Regions from separate parts of the Homo sapiens genome. Here region 1 is linked to region 2. The links are contacts of gene promoters, found by promoter capture Hi-C in human tissues and cell types (Jung and others, 2019). All regions are on one chromosome and are shown on one strand. The core of a region is centred on a gene start or on the middle of the fragment in contact, and the rest is flanking DNA. Distances in the headings are between cores, read along the strand shown.

The links. Contacts are between HindIII fragments. The study calls those that stand out against the background at their distance.
Region 1: a contact is called between a fragment that was not itself captured here and the fragment with the promoter of TAF4 in region 2, in 1 of the 25 tissues and cell types used here (thymus).

The regions. Positions count from the first base shown.
Region 1 is chr20:62,094,783-62,102,549 of GRCh38, forward strand. It overlaps LOC105372706 (a long non-coding RNA gene), which reads right to left. Exons shown (of 3, transcript XR_936963.2): 3 at 6,361-7,767. Among named protein-coding and RNA genes, the nearest start is that of LSM14B, 24 kb to the right of the region's middle. The HindIII fragment of the contact is 5,244 bases long and covers 2,084-7,327 here.
Region 2 is chr20:62,063,077-62,070,721 of GRCh38, forward strand. It overlaps TAF4 (TATA-box binding protein associated factor 4), which reads right to left and starts at 2,805. Exons shown (of 15, transcript NM_003185.4): 1 at 1,375-2,805. The coding sequence starts at 2,734. MIR3195 (microRNA 3195) reads left to right here and starts at 1,726; the gene lies at 1,726-1,809. It overlaps LOC105372705 (a long non-coding RNA gene), which reads left to right and starts at 3,378. Exons shown (of 2, transcript XR_936960.3): 1 at 3,378-3,615; 2 at 3,866-5,459. RefSeq lists enhancers at 495-1,008, 1,009-1,523, 1,524-2,037, 2,038-2,552, 3,581-4,094 and silencers at 2,486-2,575, 2,836-2,945, 3,206-3,585. The HindIII fragment of the contact is 19,572 bases long and covers 1-7,645 here.

The DNA.
Region 1 (7,767 bases), core at 3,456-5,955, 34 kb after region 2:
GAGTCTTGCTCTGTTGCCCAGGCTGGAGTGCAGTGGCACAATCTTGGCTCACTGCAACCTCTTCCTCCCAGGTTCACGCCATTCTCCTGCCTCAGCCTCCCGAGTAGCTGGGACTACAGGCGCCCGCCACCACGCCCAGCTAATTTTTTGTATTTTTAGTAGAGACGGGGTCTCACCATGTTAGCCAGGATGGTCTCGATCTCCTGACCTTGTGATCAGCCCACCTCGGCCTCCCGAAGTGCTGGGATTACAGACGTGAGCCACCGCGTCCGGCCTAGAAACATTTAACATTAAACAGTAAAGCAGATGCTCACATGCACAGACTTGCGTATGTGCCTGCACCTGCACAGGTGTGCACACAGGTGTGCCCAGCCTCTCTCAGGAGCTCTGCCAGCAGGTGTCAGTGGGACCCAGCCGCCTGCATATTCTGCAAAGGTCATTCAGATGATTCTCACAGCCCCCGAGATTGAGACCTCCTGCTCTACAACAAAAGGTGCTCGTGCTCTCAAATCTTTTCCCTCAGGTTTCCCAAAATGAGGGATAATTGAAACACATCATTTGCTCTTCGCATGAGAAGCAAAAGTGAGTAACGTGCTGTACGAGGCTAGAATTAATGAAGAGGCTCATGAATGTAATCTCATACATTAAAACCTTTCCCAAATTCATGTCAATCTGCATTGTAATGTTCATATTTTATAAAATGGGGTGTGGGGTTCAGAAACAGTTTGCAAAATGAATGTCCTGCCTCGATAAGCCAGGCACATTTTTTTTTTTTCAGCTTAAAAAACAGGAAAGCCAGAAGCGGTGACTCACGCCTGTAATCCCAGCACTTTGGGAGGCCGAAGCGGACAGATCACCTGAGGTCAGGAGTTCGAAACCAGACTGGCCAACATGGTGAAACACTGTTTCTACTAAAAATTGGCCAGGCATGGTGGTGAGTGCCTGTAATCCCACTACTTGGGAGGCTGAGGCAGGAGAATCACTTAAACCTGAAAGGCAGAGGTTGCAGTGAGCCAAGATCATGCCATTGCACTCCAGCCTGGGCGACAGAGCGAAACTCCGTCTCGAATAGAATAGAATAGAATAGAATAGAATAGAATAGAATAGAATAGAATAGAACAGAACAAAATAAAATAAAATAAAATAACACAGCAGAGGGAGGTCAGAAGCAGTGGCTCATGCCTGTAATCCCAGCACTTTGAGAGGCTGAGGAAGGAATCACTTGAGACCATGAGTTTAAGACCTGCCTGGGCAACATAGTGAGACCCCTGTCTTTACACAATTAAAAAAAAAATTAGCCAGGCATGATGGTACACACCTGTAGTCCCAGCTACTCAGTAGGATGAAGTGGGAGGATCGCTGTAGGTCAGGAGTTCAAGACTAGCCTAGGCAACATAGCGAGACACAGTCTCCACCAAAAAATTAAAAATTAGCCAAACATGGTGGTGTATGCCTGTTGTCTCAGCTACTCGGGAGGCTGAGGCAGAAGGATTGCTTGAGCCCAGGAGGTGGAGGCTGCAGTGAGCTGTGACCATGCCACTGCATTGCAGCCTGGGGGACAGAGCAAGATGTTGTCTCAAAAAAGACAAAAACCCAAAACCAGACAGAAAGCCTTGCTCTGGAATGGATGAGGGCCAGAATCTGCTCATTAGGAGCCTGGTACTGGGCCTCTATCCTGGACTTGAGTTGCAGGAGAAAGGACCAAAGCACCAAGTTGAAACATAGAACAGGTAATCCGAGACCTCGCCGGACACATGCACATGTCTGCACTCTCACGCGTGGTGCACACGCTGCACACCCTTGCATACACACACATGAGCACGCTCATGCTCACACATGCCCTGGCCCACCGCCCCACCTCGACCTCTCCCTCTGGGACCCCAGTCCTGCCTCCTCTGCTACACCCCCTCCCCACCACACTCACCAGCCCTCCCCTGGGGGCCTGCGGCAGGGACCACAGGGGTTTCCTAAGGTCCCCTCATTCTTCGCCATCTGAGGCCCTCTCAGATCTGCTGGCAGACATTTCGGGGGAAAGAGGAGGGGCCAGGAGCTCCTAGCAGCTCCCCCTCTGCAACCTTGACTGGCTCTGCAGACACCTCCTAGGTGCCACGATGGGCCGGGCACGTTCCAGGCGCCAGGGACACATTCCCACCATGCAGGGAGACAGGAGACAAGCACAGTTGTGCCGGCAGGAGGAGCCAGCAGGGCTGAGAGGGGGAGGACAGGAGCCAGGGAGGGCTTCCCTGAGGTGTCATGGGCACAGACACTGTCAGGCGTGGGGAGGGATGCACTCTGCAGGGGGATCTGCACTGCCCAGGCCAGGAGCCGAGAAGTGGATCCAGGAAGGGCTGGGCCCTGCGGTTACCTGTCACCCAGAATGGCACTGGGCGCCTCTTCTGTCCCCGCCGGCTGTGTGGCCCGAGGCGGGCCCTGGGGCTTGGGTTTCTCATCCATGCAGTAGGGACAGTGTCCCACCTCTGCGTCCCTCATGGGGCATGGCAAGGACCGGGGGAATGGAGGGCCTGCCTGGTCGGATCAGAGAGCAGGGTGGGGGGTGGCGGCGGTCTCAAAGAGGAAGGAAGGCCCCTAGGCTGGGGAAGTCGTGTTGATGCCACCACGGGCACAGCCAAGGACAAAATGCCCTGGGGGCCTCACGGGACCAGACCCTTGGGTCCTCCCACCAGGGGTGGGAGACCATCCTGTCCATGACCACGTCCCACGACATGACTTCAGTTCCCGCCTGTCCTCACACTGGGGACTCCCCCTGCTCACTGCACCCACTGTCCAGTGATGGGTAATTTGAGCCCCAGCAGAACAGTTGTCAAGAGGCTGCTCCGGGAAGGCCACGCAGGCACCACACTCAGGGCAAACGTAGTGGAGTAGGGGGTGGGAGGCGATTGCGGACATGGGCATGAGGGTTCCCAGGAAGAGGGTGGGCATGAGGCAGGCATCTGCATGCTTTTGGGGGGGCATGGCTCTGAAGGGGCAGGTGCAGGTGGGAGAGGGTGTGGGGAGAGAGAATTCTGTGCCCCCATGCAGGGGGATGGGTGTTGCCAGAGGCAGGGTGGGGGCACCGCGGACAGTCGGGCGGAGGGCACATTCCAGGAAGCGTTTTACACACAGGCAGACAGGCCCCACTGCAGGGAAATGGAAGATGGGAAGGGCAGCCCATGGCTTTTCTGGTGTCAGAATGGATTTCTGAAACACAGAGTGAACACAGTCATCCGAAAAGCCCAGGGTTCAATGTGCTGGAGCCCAGATCCGTGGGAGCCCAGGGTGGGGACCTGGGCCTGGGGCTGGGGCTCTTTGGACACTGGCCAGGAGGAAGCAGGAGAGGAGCCAGGTAGGGCCCCGACGGCCTCACGGGCTGCTCAGGACAGACCCTGCAGCCAGGACGAGCGTAGGGCTCCAGCAAAGCTGGACCTGCAGCGTGCCGTTGGGGAGGGGCCTGCCTGGGGTCCACTGTTCCCTCAGTCACAGGCTCCCCAGCGTCCCTTCCCGCACCAGAGTGAACGGCAGGAAAAGATGCTGCAGCGGCGCCCGGCCTGCACCTCCTCCCAGGTGAATCTTGTGGAAAAGGAGATGTAGGCCTAGACAAATCTTTTGTTTTAGAACATTTCCTTCTTGAAAAAAAGAAAAAGAAAAAAGAAACCAAAAAAACCCTTGTCTTCCAGGGAGATCAAAAGGTGATGGTGAAGGAGTCCCGCAAGCTGGGAGTTTAAAAATGGAACAGGCCGGGCGCGGTGGCTCACGCCTATAATCCCAGCACTTTGGGAGGCCGAGGCGGGTGAATCACGAGGTCAGGAGTTCAAGACCAGCCTGGTCAACATGGTGAAACCCCATCTCTACTAAAAATAGAAAAAATTAGCTGGGCACGGTGGTGGGCGCCTGTAATCCCAGTGACTCAGGAGGCTGAGGCAGGAGAACCGCTTGAACCTGGGAGGCGGAGGTTGCAGTGAGCCGAGATTGTACCACTGCACTCCAGCCCAGGTGACAGTGGAGGCTCCATCTCAAAAAAAAAAAAAGAAGAAAAAAGAAAAAAATAGCACAGAACTGGGTCAGGTGGGTTTGTCCTGCCACAGACAGGGTGCTGCTTAGAACCAACCAGCTTTCCCCAGAACTCACCTCCTGCCACTTCATGGTGGAGGGGGTGGCTGCTGGGTTGGACCCAACTCCACCATCTTCCAGCTGGTGAGGATTTCCACGCCATTCCAGGTCACCCCCCGACCTGTTGGGAGCCGGCGTCTTGGACAGGGGAAAGCTGAACAGGGCAGTGAAGAACAGTCTAGAAGCATGTTCTTCACTTCAAGACCCAGGACCCCATGGACATCCTGCCTACAGATCGCCCCACTAGCCCTGCTTCAGTCACTGGGCATCTGGCAGCACTCGATAGGTGCCATGTGGTACTGCCTGCTCTGTGGGTGCAGCTGCCATGCCGAGGCCGTCCCCTCTGTCCTCTCCAGGCTCTCCTGTAACCTCCCAGCTCTGCTCTCCCATGCCCTCCCTCAACCCAGCCCTTCCGTGGGGGCTCCTCCTGGCTCTCCCCGGCCTGTCCCTCCACACCCCCTTTCAGACCCTCACAGCTGCCTCCCCACACCAGCCTTCAGGGGACTCTGCAGCCCACCTCTCTGCCCACTCCTTCCTCCTAGATTCTCACTGAAGCTTCCCCCGCTCTCCCTAGACCCGCAGCTCATACCCCCGGCTACTTATTAGAATGCCTGGCAAGCTTGGATAAAACCCCATACTCAGCCACACCCAGGCCCATTAAACCACACACCTAGAGTTGGCCTGGAAGCCTCGAGGTACATCCAGGGTGCAGCAGGTAGGAGGCCTCAGTCCCAGACCAAGGAAGGAGCCCTTACCATAGAGTGCCCAGCCCCACCCCAGCCCCGATGCTCACCAGCGTGGGGATTGTATGTTGACCCACACTCAATGAGTGTCTGTGGGATCAGTACATCAGTGATGGGGGGATCAGTCCATCAACAGATCAATGAATGAACCAATGACTGGATGATCTGAGTGGCCACTGCTATTGGCTGAGACGGCTTCTCTCAGGTTTGTCCTCACCACCTGCTTGCTGTCTGAGCAGCCCACCCTCCTCCGTGCACCCCTGGACCCACCTCTGCTTCCCATGGGTACACCCTTGCCTCTGATACAGACGGAAATCCTGATGGCGACAGAGCTGACTCTCCTAAGGCATCCTTTGCATCTGCATCAAAACGATCTGAGGCCACAGATGAGGCCACGAAGAGAAGAACGTGGCCCTGCCTGCTCTGGATTCCCAGCCCCACGGCCCTGCTGTCCTGCTGCTGCTTCCCTGCACTTCCTCTGCTCACCCGCCCGGCAGAGGGTGGTCCCCTGGGCCCACGCAGGCCTGAGCAGCGCACTCCTCCAGGCTTTGGGTGTAAGTCGTTCTTGCGGTCAGTTTATCCTGTGTCTGCCTGTTCCCATCCCAAACCTCCCCAGGGACTCTAGAAAGCGTGTCCTGGGCCACCTTTCCACGTGGGGAGCAAGAAAGCCATCAGCCCCATCCTCCCAGGGGCTCTCATGGGCAGCCTGGCCCTGACTCCCCAGGCGGCTGCTCTTCACACTGCTGTCCATGGGCAACGAGCTCCCACACCTCTGTTGGGGTTTGTCCTGAGCGGAACCTGGGTCCCCCGACTGCCCTCCCCGCTCACTCCCTGCACATTCTCTAGGAGTTCACTGAGAAAGGTGCCTGGAGGCCTCCTCAGTCTTAGGGTCCCCCGGGGGACGAGGATGCAGAGTAGCTTCCCACGGGGCTGTGAAGGTTTTGCCCGCTGCCGACATTGTCCACCTGCAGCCACCTGAGAGGCAGTGCCAGTCAGATCACCAGCTCTTTCGTGGGACTGGGACCTGCTCTGCCAAGAGTTGGCTTCATGTCCTGTGTTCAGAAATTTCATGATGCCATGCCGGCCTTCCTTCACTCATTCAACCTGGAGCCTCACGTCCACATTTTAGGATGTTTCCTCATAAATCACTTGCTTGGCGATGCTCTCCATTCTGTTTTCTCTTTCTGGAGCTCTTATTAATGTTTTCTTCCCTATTTTTCATTTCATTTTCTCTACTTTATGAAAAAATTATCTTTTTTTTTTTTGAGACGGAGTCTCTCTCTGTCACCCAGGCTGGAGTACAGTGGCACAATCTCGGCTCATGGCACAATCTCCACCTCCTGGGTTCAAGTGATTCTCCTGACTCAGCCTCCTGAAGAGCTGGGATTACAGGTGCCCACCACCATGCCCAGCTAATATTTGTGTTTTTAGTAGAGACAGCGTTTCACCATGTTGGCCAGGCTGGTCTCGGACTCCTGACCTCAGATGGTCCACCTGCCTTGGTCTCCCAAAGTGCTGAGATTACACATGTGAGCCACCACGCCCCGCCTGAGAAATTTATCTTTTATGGAAGTTTTCATTTGTGCTTTTTTTTTTTCATTTCCAAGAGCTCTTTCTTAATTTCTCACTGTTCCTTTTTTATTACATCCTGTTCTTAGGTCATGGATGTGCTGTTTTCTCTTCTCTCTCCAAGGGTATCAGCAATAAGGTTTTTTCTTTTTTATATTTTTTGTTCCTCAGGTTGCTACTCTTTCCCCCAAGCTCCCTTCTTTGGTGCATGGGGATGTGGGATCTGTCTTTCGTGTGGGGTCTTTTTCTTCTTCAAAGTCCAGTGACCCTTGGGGTCCACGTGTCTTCATGAGAGGCTCAAAAGTGCTGAGGTGGAGCAGTGTGGGTGTAGGGGGATGAGGGGCTGCTCCAGGGTGGACCTCAGAGGGGGAAGCAGCAAGGTCTGAATATGTGGTCAGGGTTCTTAAGAGGCCAGCGCAATTCCACAGAGCCCCCACCTCCCACCCGGGAGACACATCAGGCTGTTGGCACTCGGGGAGGGAGCAGAGTAAAGGGCTCAGGCCACCTTTCAGGATGTGGCTGTGACCTGATCTCCTGGCCCTCCTCAGTGCCTTGCTCTCTCACAGGCTGTGCCTACCCCTGGCCCCAGCCCAGAACCTCCCAGCCCTGACTCCTGAGAGCAGCACCTGGACCCCTGTCTTCTGCCTGCATCTGTAGGAAAAGCAGTCTCCTAGGGGTGGGTCTGAGCTCCCAGTCCACCCCATGCTCCACCTTCAGAGCTGCCTGGCCTTCTGGATGGAGTCCCTCTGGGGTCCTGGGGATTCCCCACCCTGTGTGCCTGGGCTCTGCCTCTCCCTGGTCTGCCCAGTTGGTACTGCCCAGCTGTCTGTCTTCCAGCTGAGCCAGAGAGGAGATGCCCACAGATAAGCAGGGTCAGCCGTGTCCTCTGTGGTCCTCCCGTGAGTCTAGGGAGGGGATGCCCCAGAGGAGCAAGGTCAGCAGTGTCCCCTCTGTGGTCCAAGATCCAGGGAGAAGCGTGTGCTCTGCACGCTGTGCTGAACCAGAAGTCACCCCCTTACATTTGACTCTGTCTTCAATGTATTTTTAGAAGGAAACTGTAACCACTGCTGCTTCGAATGTGCTGTCACCATCATAGCCACCTCCCCTACAAAGACACAAGCAGGAGCCAGAGGCTGGGAAGCCTGGCAACCTCGAGAAATGGCACCTGGGATGTCACTTGCACAAGAAAAAGAAGACAGAGTGTGCCCACCTGGCCCAAGAGCTGAAGCCCGGAAGTGGGGTTGGGTGACTGGGCCAGGAGCCTCTGCCCTCGGTCCTCCCACCTCGGGAAGAATCCGGGGCACAGTGTTATGGGGCAGTTGTAGGAGTAGCCGACAAACAAAATCAG
Region 2 (7,645 bases), core at 1,555-4,054:
CGCTTCAGTACCCCAAAAGCTTGTCGTAAAGGGCGTCTCAGCAACCCCGGGAAGTAGCTTCACAGCTCTCTTCCTCCCTGGAGCACTGCAGCCTAGCAGCCGCCCAGACAGGCTTTCCCCACCCCTGCCCTGTCCAGAGTCTGACCACCAGCCCCGAACCTCACATACTTGGACAAGAAATCCTTTCACTTCTGAAGATTCTGCAACCCTGTCAAAGTGACCAATAGCTCCATTCAGAGAGGGGACGCAGGAGGGACCCACGCTCTCCTTGCAGTTCCTACTACTGCTGCCACCGCGCTGCTACAACTGCACGGCACGCGTCACCACAGGCCGGGGAGGAGCTCCCCTGCCCAGCACCCACCACGGCGGCTGGGGAGGGACGGGGAGCCCCAGACAAAAGCAGCAATGCTGGCCAGGCAATCTTTCCTGTCAAACTTGAGGGGCCCTGAGGAGTCGCAGAGACAGCAGACTAGACAGGAGCGTGAGAACTGCCAGGCGGAAGTGGCGTCGGAGCCCCAGGCATCCGCAGCATAGCCAGTATCGCCCCGAGACCCCTGCACGGAGCGAGAACATCTGCTGCCACCGCCCTCCCACTGCCCTCCCGAGGGGGCAGCAACCAGAGTAGCTAGGCGCTCCTTCCTTTAGGCACCAACGCAGCTCTGGAAGAGACAGTGACACACACGGTGCTGAAACCCTACTCCACAGCGTGGCTCTCAGCAAGGCTGCGCGCCGGGAGGACTCTCGCAGGATGCGCCTGACATCTCTCCCTGCCTGGTGGCAGCAGAGGAGCCCAAGCCTTCCATCCAGAGTTCCCGAGCCTCAAGGAGGGGGCGTCGCGCCCCCGTCCTCGCCTGGAGACTGAAGAGGCTCGAGCCCAGGGTCACCAAGGGGCAGAAAGGCTAAGTGGGGACACAGGCCACACGCCTAACTGCAGAACTGAGCAGGGGACAGCTGCTGCCACTCACAGCCCCAGGTACTGCCCTCAGCTCTGCAGACCCCATCGCCTGGCCCAGGGAGCCCCTGCGCTGAGCCTACCAACCCGGGCAGGGACGCATAGGGCGGGAGCAGGTAAGGACCACTCCACTAAGAGTCCTGGCTGAGCCACTCCGAAACAGACCAGCCCCAGGCACAGGCAGCCAGCGCGGACGTCAGGGACAGCGACAGGGACGCAGGCTATGCCGACTCCCTCTGGCTCACTCGCAGACAGCCACCCGGGCTGGCCCCGCACCTGGGTAGAGACTGCCCCTCGGCCTGCTCCAGCCACGGGCCTACGGGACAGATGACCTTAGCATTCCACCAGCGGAGAACTTCCTGGAACTGGCAGCTGGCGCTGCTGGGAGCCGCCCTTCCCTCCCGCCCCGTGCGGCCACTCACCTGGGGGCAGCTGGAAGTTCTGGATGTTGGTCGGGTTCTGAGGCGGCTGCGGCAAGCGGGGGGCCAGCACGGTGGGCGTCAGGGTGGCCCGAATCCCGCTGGTGGTGGCCGTGGGCGTCCGGGACAGGCTCTGGGTCACTGCGCCGGCCGCGCCTTTGGGCAGCCCGGTGGGGGTCCCGGGGGCGGGCGGCGGGACGGCGGCCGGGCTGGGCAGCGCCCCTTGCATAGTTGGCCCGATGACCATGCTGGCCGCCGTGCTGGCCGGGCCGCTGGCCGCCAGGGTCTGCGCCGCCGGGGGCGCCGCCTGCACCACCCTCTTGGGCGACTCGGCCTTGACCCCCGGCGCCGGCGCCGCAGCCGCCGCGCCGGGCCCGGGTTGGCCGCTGACCCCCGCGGGGCCCCCGGCGGCCGGGGCGGGGGCGGGGGCTGCCCCGGCGCTGCCCCCGTTCTGGGCGGCGGCGGGGGGCGGCACGGCGGGCGCGGCGGTCGGGGGTCCGGCGGGGTGGCCGGGCGGCCGGGCCAGAGTGGCGGGCGCGGGGGGTGGCGGGGGCGGGGCGGCGGCGGGGGCGGCGGGCGCGGGGGCGGCGGGGGGCGAGGGCGCGGCGGGCGCGGGGGGCGCGGCGGCGCCCACGAAGGGGGGCGTCTGGATGACAGTGCCGGGGGCGGCGGGCTTGGGCAGCGGCAGCAGCGCGGCGGGCCCGTTGTTGACCAGGCTGACAGCAGGTGCGGCGGCGTGGTGCGAGTTCAGCAGCGCGGCGCTCCCATTCAAAGTTTGCGCGGCGCCGGGGCCGGCGGGCTTGCCAGGGCCAGGGCCGGGGCCGGGGCCGGGGCCGGGCCCGGGGCCGGGGCCGGCGCGGGCGGCCAGCGCGGCGGGGCCGGCGGGCTTGGCGGGGCCGGCGGGGGCGGGCTCGGGCCCCGCGGCGACGGCGGCGGCGGCGGGCACCGGGGCGCAGGACCCCGCGCTGCCCTCGGGCGGCGGCCTCAGCTTCGCGGCGGGCGGCGCGGGCCCTGCGGGGACAAGGGGGCGGCGCGGTGAGGGGGGGCCCGGGCGCTGCGGCCCCCCGCCCCCCGGCCGCGCTCTACCTGCGGGGGGCGGCTCCGGCGCCGCTCCGGGCGCGCCCTCGGCGGGGGCGGCCGGCCCTGCGCCCGCGGCTCCGGCCGGGCTGCCGCTCACAACATGGTTCCCGAGCGCGCCGGCGGCCGCGGCCCGCACCTCGGGCGTGCGCGGCGCGAGGTGGTGGTGGTGGGCCGCGCTGGCCGCCAGCTGCGACTCCAGCGAGCCCACCAGGTCGCTCACCACTTTCTCGTCCACCTCGCTGTTGAAGAAGACCTCGTCCAGCAGATCCGAGCCCGCCGCCATCTTTTTTCCTCGGCCGCCGCCGCCGCCGCCGCTCGGGCCGAGCGCGCCTGGGCGAGGAGGAGGTTCCGACTGGGGCGGGCGCTGGGCGGGCGGGGGGCGGCGCGCGGCCGGCGGGGGGCGGGGGCGCGCGGCCGGGGGGCGGGGGAGCGGGGGTGGCGGCCCTGCGCAGGCGCGGAGACCGCGGGCGCCCGGCGATTGGCTGCGGCGCGCGCTTAAAAGGCGCGGCCAATGGCTGCGAGCGCTAGAGGCCGGGGCGCGGGCGGTCGGCCGGGGTGCGGCAGCAGCGGCGGGAAGCGCGGGGGCTGGAGCTCAGGGGCGCGGGCGCCGGGGCGGTGGCGGACGGGGAGGGGGCCGCCGGGCGGGGCGCGGGATGCGGGAACGGTGCGCTGGGCCGGGCCGAGGCGGGCGCGGGGCGGCGACGGGGCCTCGCTCTTTGTCTCGGCTCGCTCCAAAATGGCTGCGGCGGCGCTGACGGGAGCGCCGGGCGGGCGCCGTGCGCGGTGGCAGCGGCGGCGCAGGGCCCGTCCGAGGCCCGGGGAACAGCGCGCGGGGATGCCGGGGCGCCGCCGGGCGGCGCGCAGGCCCTGGAGTGGATGGGCCTGGGAGGCGGGCGGGAACGGGGAGGGGACTGTCGCAGCGCGCCCTGGGGACGGGGACCGGCGCCCGGCCCCTCCAAGCCGCCGCGGGGAAGCTGGGTCCGCCTCTGGCTCAGCCGGTCCCGGGCGGTGGGGAGGGGTCCTGCGCGCACGGCTCTTCTCGCCCTCCAATCGTGACCACCCCTGGCCCTTCCCTCCATTTTTAATCAATAAACCCAGCCGCCCCGGGCTGACTGTCCCCGCACCCAGCTGCCTTGGAGACAGGAGTGTCGTATAAGCCCGTAGGTAAGAGCACGGTGCTTGCCAGGCGCCAAACGAAGTTCCCGAGCCTGAAGCCGGCACGTCTGGAAGTAGCTTTTTTTACCTTCTGCTGGGGGAGGGGAGTAAGTTACCTAAAGTGTTCCCAAGCACCTTCTCTCTAGAAATACTTCAGTAAAAGTTCCAGTCCCCTCTTTCTGCGTGTTTTATTTTCCAACCAAAAGATGGTGTTATTGGACATTTCTAGTGGTTTTCCTTTCTCTCATTTCTTCCTAAGAGCCCAGAATAGGTTTCAGAGAGACGCTTCCTTGCCTCGGACCTCACTGGGGCCAAGAGGCCACAGGGTCAGTCTTCGCAGCTGAAGACAGCGCCGCAATAAGCAGAGACCTCGGGACGATGAATGACGTTGCTGACAAAGAAAATGATTTTTTTAATTGCTTTAACAAAGGAGACTGCTAGTCTCGAAAGCAGACCCGAACTGGACCCTTGTGCCTGTTCGAACTGTAGCCTTGCAAAGGAATGGACTTACTGATAACTGGAATACGGGACTTCACCCCAGGCTTGTTTCTCGACAGCAGCAGCAGCCAATGAGCATTGAGGACGGAGCCTAGGAGAGGTGCCTCCCCTATAGGGGAACAGTGTTTGGGGGAAATCACTGCAAACGTACAGCTGGAGTTTTGTACCTGAACTTTGGCTCCCAGAAGGCAGGAAAGGAAATGAATGAAGCAAGCTGAGTATGGCGGGGAGGGCCCCTGTGGGTACACCTACGGAGCACCTTGAGCTCAGTAGGGGGACAGTCTGAGTTTTCCAGAAAGAACAGAAATATAAAGTGATGATTAAATCTCGGGATTTTTAATTTTTGAGTGTTGACAACTAATTAGAACATTTTTAAAGCAGGTCAAAGCACAGGCAGGCTAACTGGCCCCACGCACAACTTGCAAGGTGGGGCGCACCAGGCTCACTGCACAGCCCATACCCACAGACCCCTCAGATTGGAGTCGGGGCAGAAGCAGAACGCAGGACTCGCAGGAAACAGACCAGGTTCCAAGGCCCCCAGGGTCCCAAAGGCTGGGGTAACTGAAGGTTCCCACGCTCAGGCCTCCACTCTTCAAGTCCGCTGCTACTCCACTGAGATCTGTAATGAGTCTCCTGCCATCTACGCACAGTGGTGACTCCTCTTCTCCAAGGCCCCGCCAGGAGTCTTTCATTCCAACGTGTTCGCAGGATCTTCTGGGGAACCGTCCAGCCTGGCAGCTGCAGGAACTGCGAGAAGTTAAGGGTCTGTGCCCACCTATTCCAGCTTCCCTTGCAAGGAGGGTGTTGGGCACCAGAAGGCCCTGGGGAAAGTGGGAGCCGCAGACAGCCAGGCAGCTCTTCTATGTCTGGGGTTTGCAGGAGCACTGCCTTCCGGGGGGGGGGGGAGGGGAGGCGGGTGAGGACAGCACGTGACTTCCCCTCCTAATGTTCATGTGGTGGGGAGTCACCCTGGGGGCCTCCCGCCAAATTTTAGTATCTCTGTGATTTTAGTTGTTGCCCCAAGCAGTTAGGACTTGTGTAGTTTGAAAGAAAAATCTCACCCAGCATAAAAAGAGAAAAGGGGGAATTGTAACAAATGTTAATCATAAGCACTGTTTCAACCCGGAAAAATGTTTGCTGCCAGGCTGTGGGCAAAGAGGTGGCCTCGGCGGCTGGCAGCTCAGTGGGCCTTCCAAGTTTACTAAGCAGGGTCTTGTATTTTTAAATAAAATAGAGCATCAGACACGCTCACTTAAATATAAAAAATAATAAAAACAAGTTTTGAATTAAGTTTAAGACACATTAAGAATAAAACAAATCTAAGAATAAAGGGAATCAGTGATTTCCAAGCTGCAGGCTGTGTGAAAGTTCTGTGGTGTTTGTTAGGTGACCTGTGCTTTTATTGTCTGCCTGACAGCCCTCATCATAAAACAATTTTTTAAAAAAAAAGCCAGCGCCAGCTCACGCCTATAACTGCAGGGTTTTAGGAGGCTGAGGCAGGAGGATGGTCTGAGCCCAGGAGTTCAAGACCAGCCTGGGCAACAAAGCAAGACACGGTCTCTACTAAAAACAGGTTTTTTTAATTAGCCAAGCGTGGTGTTGTGCACCTGTGGTCTCAGCTATTTGGGAGATTGGAGCAGAAGGATCACTTGGGCCCTGGAGTTCAAGGCTACAAGTGAGCTGTGATCGTGCTGCTATGATTGTGCCACTGCGCTCCAGGCTGGGCGACAGAATGAGACCCCTTCCCCCCACCCACTCCGCAAAGAAAAAGGCGTGCAGCTAGATAGCAGCTGAATGTTTTTGGGGTGTCCACCAGCCCCGCTGGCAGCGTTCGTCAGTCTTGCAGACTCAGGGGGGATGTCTCTGGTCACAAATGAATCCACATCCCAGGGAGAAACTTGTGGCCACCTAATTGCTCTGTAAATGCAGAGGGATGCGTTTCTCAAGGCTGCCTTAACGAATGATCACAAACGTATGCAACTTCAACAACAGGTGGATTCTCACAGCTGTAGAAGCCAGAACCAGGGTGTGGGCAGGGCTGCACTCCCTCTAGAGGCTCTAGGGGAGGATCCTTCCTGCTTCCTCCAGCTTCCGGTGGCTCCAAGCATTCCTGGGCTTGTGGTCACATCACTCCAGTCTCTGTCTTCTCCTGACCTTCTCCCTGTGTGTCTGTGTCCTCTCCTTTTATAAGGATACCAGTCATTGGATTCAAGACCTCCCTAAATCCAAAACGATTTCATCATGAGATCCTTTACCAATTATGTCTGCAAAGCCCCTGCTTCCAGATAAGGTCACATCCTCATGTTCTGGTGGATATGGTTTGAGGGGACACTATTCAAGCTAGTATACGGGATGGCTACTTACTGTTCACTTACAGGGAGACCTTTGGTAAGAGGCACTTAGCCTGGCCCCTTCACCCTGGGACACAAGTCTGGGGAGGCTGGAGCCTGAGACAGTAGCCTGTGACTTGAGAGTTCCGGAGTAGAGAAGTCCACTGGCCAAGACACCTCCAACCCCTGCCCTGCTTTCCCAAGAAAATGAGGATTCTCAGATCTGCTCGGCCAGGACTCTCTCGCCAGGGTCAGGGCTTGGCCAGGCACTAGCATTAATCAGGCCTGACACGTGATCAAGGGCCAGGTGGAGCCTGTTGTACAGATGAGGGGGGACTGGAGCTTGAAGTTAAGTCAGCAGCCCAGGTTTCATTCTTGGAAGGGGCAGAAACCTTGGACTTGGACCCCAAAGCTGGCAGAGCTGGCACTGCGCAGTTGACCAGCCCATGCATCCACACACCAGGCGCCACGGATTAGATGCCTGCTCACTAAATTATAGTCAAGAGTCAGGCCTGCTTCCTCCCTGAAATTGACCCAGATCTCCCAAGCGGGGCTGTCTGCAAACTCTTGAGTGACTCATTTACAACAGCCTCTTGGCTGACTCCCACAAATGGCTAACCATAGCCATCGCGGATGGATTTTACTAGCTTAACTCAGACAGCAGCGCATTTCAAAGCTCAGGAGTAAACGGCGTTGTCCTGATGGCACTCCAACAAGTCAGCCTTCCTGGGACGCTTCCTCCTTCCCAAGGTGCAAGCAAGAAATGACCTTTCCGGTGAGAGAAGCCTGTGGCCTCTAGACTCCTCCCTAACCTGGAAAGGTGCAACGCTACTGGGCTCCACTTTCTAAGCACGAGGTCCACCCAGGAGTTTCTTAGGAGTGCTATTGTTGCTTTGGTTACTTCCTAAAATAACTTTCCCCATATTCTGTTCACATACCCAGTTTATAAAACCCAAGCACCTCCTGGCTGGGCGCAGTGGCTCACACCTATAATCCCAGCACTTTGGGAGGCCAAGGTGGCCAGATCATCTGAGGTTCAAGACCAGCCTGGCCAACGTGGCAAAAGCCCATCTCTACAAAAATACAAACTGTAGCCGGGCATGATGGCAAGTGCCAGTAGTTCCAGCTACTGAGCCCAGGAGGTAGAGGTTGCAGTGAGCTGAGATTGTGCCATTGCAATCCAGCCTGGGTGATAGAGGAAGACACTGCCC